Linked DNA regions of Homo sapiens: region 1 is linked to region 2. The links are contacts of gene promoters, found by promoter capture Hi-C in blood cells and fetal thymus (Javierre and others, 2016). All regions are on one chromosome and are shown on one strand. Each heading gives the region's core, a stretch centred on a gene start or on the middle of the fragment in contact. The rest is flanking DNA. Distances are from core to core; before and after follow the strand shown. Region 1 holds the start of ZNF394 (zinc finger protein 394). Region 2 holds the start of ARPC1A (actin related protein 2/3 complex subunit 1A).

Region 1 (2,933 bases), core at 249-2,748, 170 kb before region 2:
AGACAGAGTCTTGCTCTGTCACCCAGGCTGGAGTGCACTGGTGCGATCATATCTCACTGCAGTCTTTACCTCCTGGGCTCAAAGGATCCTCCCACCTCAGCCTCCCAAGTAAGTGGTGTATCCTGAGTTGGTTCCTTCCAGTGGGTTCATCCTCTCGCTGACTTCAAGAATGCAGCCTCCGACCTTCACTGTGTTACAGCTCTTAAAGATGGCACGGACCCAAAGAGTGAGTAGCAGCAAGATTTATTGTGAAGAGCGAAAGAACAAACCTTCCACAGCATGGCAGAGCACTCCAGCCGGTTGCCTCCGCTGACTGGGGTGGGAGCTTTTAGTCTCTTATTTGTCCCCTCCCATGTCCGTTTCTGTCGTATCAGAACGCCCTTTTTTCCATCCTCCCTGCGATTGGCTGCTTTTAGAATCCTGCTGATTGGTCCATTTTACAGAGCGCTGATTGGTGCATTTTACAAACCTCTTGCTAGCTACAGAGCGCTGATTGGTGCATTTTTACAAACCTCTTGTAAGACAGAAAAGTTGTCCAAGTCCCCACTGGACCCAGGAAGTCCAACTAGCTTCACCTCTCACTGGGACTACAGGTGTGCACCACCACACCCAGCTAATTTTTTATTTTTTGTAGACATTGGGGTCTCCAATTCTTGGCTTCAAGCGATCTTCCCCCCTCAGCCTCCCAAAATGCTGGGATTACAGGCATACGCCACTGAGCCAGGCCAGGACACATCTTTGAGCCTCAATTTCCTCATCTTTTTTGTTTGTTTGTTAGGATCAAAGTCGTTAACATCTGATGTACATGGAAGCACTTAGTTTTAAAAAAAAAACAAAACTTTTTCCAACTGGGCGCAGCGGCTCACGCCTGTAATCCAGCACTTTGGGAGGCCGGGGCAGGCGGATCACGAGGTCAGGAGTTCCAGACCAGCCTGACCAACATGGTGAAACCCCATCTCTACTAAAATACAGAAAGTAGCCGGGCATGGTGGCGCGCGCCTGTAGTCCAAGCTACTCAGGAGGCTAAGACAGCCTGGCGACAGAGCGAGAGTCCGCCTGAAAAAAGAAAAAAAAACAACTTTGTCCAACCTGGGCAATATAATGAAACCCCATCCCCACAGAAAAATTAATAAACCGGGCGTGGTCGCGCGCACCTGTAGTCCTAGATACTTGGGAGGCTGAAGCTGGAGAATTGCTTGAACCCGGGAGACAGAAGTTGCAGTGAGCCGAAATCGCGCCACTGCAGTCCAGCCTGGGCGACAGAGCCAGACCCTGTCTATTTAATCCTGAAGGTTCCCGCCCTTGCCGGAGCTCGGCCACCGGCTCGGACGCCCGTATTTCCTCGGGATGCGGGAAACCGTCAAGACCCTCTGCGTCGGGCGGGGCTAGGACGATAAACCAGCGAGATGCACCTCACCCCATCAGGCGCCTAGAGAGGCCCCGGAAATGCAGGGAAAGGTGCCGCAAGGCCTCGATGACGCGCTTCCGGCACGGGATGTTTTCGGTTGTTTGACCGAGAGAGTTGTAGGCGCAAAGCTGAGGAAAGGAGAGTGTGGAGAGGGGCCTGGTGTGGTGGGGCCCGGTGTTTGGGACCGGAGGGTGTTGACGGCTGATGAGTTCCTTGGGTTTGCTCTTTCTTCACCTGAAAAGAAGACTCCAGGAAGGGCAGCACATGCCGGAGAAAGATGAATTCCAGCTTGACCGCCCAGAGGCGCGGCAGTGACGCCGAGTTGGGACCCTGGGTGATGGCTGCGAGGTCCAAGGACGCGGCGCCGTCCCAACGCGACGGACTTTTGCCCGTGAAAGTGGAGGAAGACTCACCCGGAAGTTGGGAGCCCAACTATCCCGCGGCTTCGCCGGACCCCGAAACTTCTCGACTGCACTTTAGGCAGCTGCGTTACCAGGAGGTGGCTGGACCGGAAGAGGCGCTGAGCCGGCTCCGAGAACTCTGTCGTCGGTGGCTGAGACCCGAGCTGCTCTCCAAGGAGCAGATCCTGGAGCTGCTGGTGCTGGAGCAGTTCCTCACCATCCTGCCCGAGGAGCTTCAAGCCTGGGTGCGAGAGCACTGCCCAGAGAGCGGGGAGGAGGCGGTGGCCGTGGTGCGGGCTCTGCAGCGAGCGCTCGATGGAACCTCATCCCAGGTGAGAAGCGAAAGGCCTGTTCTGGAGGTGGGAGTGTGGAAAATAGGCGTTTAGGGGTGCTCTGCGTTTCGGAACTTACTTCCTTATTACATTTCGTGTGAACATTGGGGTGTGTATGGACTTCCTTTCTGTAGGCCACAGTGACAGATCCATCCAGGAAATGACTTGTTATAGACCTCAGCATAAAGCGAACACGGATTACTGGTTTTCTTTCTTTTTCTTTTCTTTTTTTTTTTTTTCTTGTTGTTCTTGCTGTTGTTTGAGATGGAGTTTCACTCTTGTTGCCCAGGCTGGAGTGCAATGGCGCGATCTCGGCTCGCTGCAACCTCTGACTCCCGGGTTCAAGCGATTCTCCTGCCTCAGTCTCCCGAGTAGCTGGGATTACAGGCGCCCGCCACCACGCCCGGCTAATTTTTGTATTTTTAGTAGAGACGGGGTTTCACTGTGTTGGCCAGGCTGGTCTCGAACTCCTGACCTCAGGTGATCCGCCCGCCTCGGCCTCCCAAAATGCTGGGATTACAGGCGTGAGCCACCGCGCCCGGCCTTGTTTACTTTTAATCTGTATCATATTTCCATTCCCATACATCACAGTGATATAAGTTAAAGAAATATTTTGCTCCTACCTACCTCCAAAATTAGTGTAAATAGTCCACAGAAAGGCTTTTCAGGATTACAAGAGAATGTCAGCCTCTATCTCTGATCTCTCCAAACTCCCTTGTCGGTACAAGACTCAAGAAGAGTGTTAGTGCTGTACAGGGACAGCAGGTACTGAATGGGGCTCTTGTGTTGTTC
Region 2 (3,169 bases), core at 199-2,698:
GAGTGAGACTCTATCTCCAAAAATAAGTAAATAAAAATAAATGAAAATTAGCCCAGTGTGGTGGCACACGCCTGTAGTCCCAGCTACTCAGGAGGCTGAGGTGGGAGGATCTGTTAAGCCCAGGAGGTCGAGGCTGCAGGAAAAAAAAAAAAAAGGAAGACAACAACCACAGTTACCCACTCCCTAACAGGACAAAAACACCTTCCTGACTGATGCCCCTCCTCTGTTTTTAGATACCTGAAAACCCAGGCCCTATGTGAAACCACAAGACTAGATAAAATTGAGGAGAGAGGGCAGAACTAAGATAATCTCGGCAATTTAAGCTACGAGTTGACATAGACAGAAGGTTCCAAAGCTGCAGGAGAACAGATGGCTTTATAATCAAAGATTCTAAGCTATAACTGATTAAGTGCCTATCATGTTCCCAGCAGTGTTGTAAATACCGGGATGGGGCTAGAAACATAAATAAGGCTGACACCATTCTGGTCTTCAAGTCTGGAGGGTTGGTGTTTGGGGAGAGTGGAGGAGATAGAAAAGGAAAGGAAGACGGATATGCATAGAATGCCCAGAAGCAGTAATAATAGCTAATATTTATTGATCACCTACTCTCGGCCAGGAACTATTCTAAGCAATTTATGCAAATAAGCTCACTTGATTCTTAGCAAAACGGTAAGAATCTTTTTATTGCAGATGAGGAAACAGGCGCAGAGAAGCATCTTCCCAGGATCACTCAACAAAGTGGTGGTGCCAGGACTGGCATAAAAGATTCCACTAAATGAATAAGAGCGCCGAGAAGGGTGCAATTTTGACTTGGGGGAAGGCGGTACTCATGCAGGGAAATCTTAAAAGAACTCGGGAGAAGGTTTTTCTCGAGATCGAGAAGGTTCCCCATTAACCGAAGGATTGAGGGCTGCCCTAGAGAGCAGGCAAACATCCTATGGGCGCCTACTGTATGCAGGGATCGACTCTAGACACTAAAGAGATGAATAGTCCCGCGGGTCGCTCGATTACGGGAGATCCTCCTACTTGACACAATTTTAGAGACGGTGACAAATGCCCCCAGCAGAGGTGCAAGTAGGACCCTGGGGGCGCAGAAGGGGCCGTTAATTCGGGCATCGGAGGCGGCTAGGAGCTCGAACATCCTGAGAAAAGCTGCAGGGGATCCACGGAGAAAGGGGATCCCCGCCCCCTCAGGAGGCCCCGGCAGGGAGACCCGGCCGCGCCTCAGCCTCGGGGCCCCGCGGCCTGAGCCCCCGTCTCACTGCCCCCGCGGCAAGTCCGGCGCCAGGCCTGGACAAGAGAGGCCGACAGGGTGAGACGCTCGCCCCTGCTGGCCGTTACCTGGGATCGGGGGAGTCCGGACGGGCTCGGAGCGGAGGATTCGCGGACTCTGGGCAGTCGACGCGAACAGGCTCCGTCGGGCGCGGGCGGAGGACGGAAGCCCAGAGGGAGCGGCTGACAGATCCCGGAAGTGGACACGGCGCCTGCGCGTTGCGACCGCGCGGACGGTCCGCGCATGCGCACAGCTCGGGCGCGCAGTCCGGGGTTAGGCAGGCTGCAGTGGAGGAGGGTACGCCGTTCCATTGGCGTGGTACTGTCGGCGGCCCTTCAGAGGAGATGCTGCCCCACGGAACGCCTGGCAAGTGCTGGCGAAGCGGCATGGGCGTCCCACTCCGTTCCTCAACCAATTTCCTCACAATCGCGAGCCGAAGTGTGGCGCTTTGGCAGTTTCGCAAGGTCTTTTGTCAGGAGATGAGTTACTGAGGATTGGGGGTCTTTGGAGCTCTTGGACCTGAAGAACGATTAAGTTTTTCTCCCTTCAGAGAGCCAAGGTCAGAGCCAGTCTACCTCAGCGCTGCTCCCTGCAGGGAGCCTCCGCCCCCGCCGTGCTCCCTCTGTGGAAAGCCCCTGAAGCCCCCCAGGAACTTTCTCGACCCTTCCTGGGACAGAATCCCCTGCTCCCAAGCAGTTCCCTGCTCCCAAGATGGCGCAGCAGGGATAAAAGGGTTGGGGGAACTTGGCAAGGCCCCCAATTCACAGAGGACAGAGCCTGCCCCGCAGATGCAGCCTCCAAGAAATGCCCTGATCCCCACCTGCAATCAGGCTGCTGCCCTTGAACCCTAGAAATTCTGGAGCATCCCCAGCCCCCACAGATGGGGCTAATCGAGAGCTTTTCTTTTTTCTTTTTTTTTAGACAGGTTCTCAACCTGTAGCCCAGGCTGGAGTGCAGTGGCGCGATCATAGCTAACTGCAGCCTGGAACCCCTGGGCTCAAGCGATCCTCCCGCCTCAGCCCCCCGTGGAGCTGGGACTACAAGTGCACACCACCACGCCTGGCTAATTTTTATTTTTTGGTAGAGACAGGGTCTTGCTGTGTTGCTTAGGCTGGTCTTGAACTCCTGGGCTCAAGCGATCGTCCCTCTTTGGCCTCTCAAAGCCCTCAGATTACAGGTGTGAGCCACTGTGCCTGGCTAATTTTTATATTTTTTGTAAAGATGAGGTTTTCCTATGTTGTCCAGGCTGGTCTTGAACCCCTGGGCTCAAGCAATCCTCTAGCCTCTGCTTCCCAAAGCGATGTGAGCTCCCCCCCGCCGCCGCCCAGCGCCATGCCAGGCCAACCAAGGGCTTGTCTCCTTCCCTTTGGTATTGTAAGGTGAGGTTTATGTAGGTATACTTGTCAAACTCTCAATTTCAGACCCGCTGTGATCTTTTTGAGACGGAGCCTTTCTCTGTCGCCCAAGCTGGAGTGCAGTGGCGCGATCTCGGCTCACTGTAACCTCCGCCTCCCGGGTTCAAGCGATTCTCCTGCCTCAGCCTCCCGAGTAGCTGGGACTACAGCTGCGCGCCACCATGCCCGGCTAATTTTTGTATTTTTAGTATAGACGGGGTTTTGCAATGTTGGCGACGCTGGTGTCGAACTCCTGACTTCAGGTGATCCCGCCTGCCTCAGCCTCCCAAAGTGCTAGGGTTACAGGCGTGAGCCACCATGCCCTGCCAGACCCGCTATGTTCTTTGGAGTTAGTGCAGAGTTCCCCAACTCCTTGGCTGCTGACGGGTGTTGGTCTGTTGCCTGTTAGGAACCCATTGGCACATGAGGTGAGCAGGGCGAGCCAACGAAGTGTCATCTGTATTTACAGCCGCTCCCCATCTCTGGCATTACGGCCTGAGCT

What was found. Contacts are between HindIII fragments. The CHiCAGO score rates a contact against its expected background, and 5 or more counts as called.
Region 1: the fragment with the promoter of ZNF394 here is called in contact with the fragment with the promoter of ARPC1A in region 2 in 1 of 17 cell types (neutrophils); the score reaches 5.5 in neutrophils.

What each region holds. Positions count from the first base shown.
Region 1 is chr7:99,498,846-99,501,778 of GRCh38, reverse strand. It overlaps ZNF394 (zinc finger protein 394), which reads left to right and starts at 1,498. Exons shown (of 3, transcript NM_032164.4): 1 at 1,498-2,141. The coding sequence starts at 1,686. RefSeq lists enhancers at 1,888-2,167, 2,390-2,933. The HindIII fragment of the contact is 23,896 bases long and covers 1-2,933 here.
Region 2 is chr7:99,324,177-99,327,345 of GRCh38, reverse strand. ARPC1A (actin related protein 2/3 complex subunit 1A) reads right to left here and starts at 1,448. Exons shown (of 10, transcript NM_006409.4): 1 at 1,342-1,448. LOC105375421 (a long non-coding RNA gene) reads left to right here and starts at 1,538. Exons shown (of 4, transcript XR_927798.3): 1 at 1,538-1,832. RefSeq lists a silencer at 1,168-1,347 and an enhancer at 1,323-1,882. The HindIII fragment of the contact is 5,893 bases long and covers 1-3,169 here.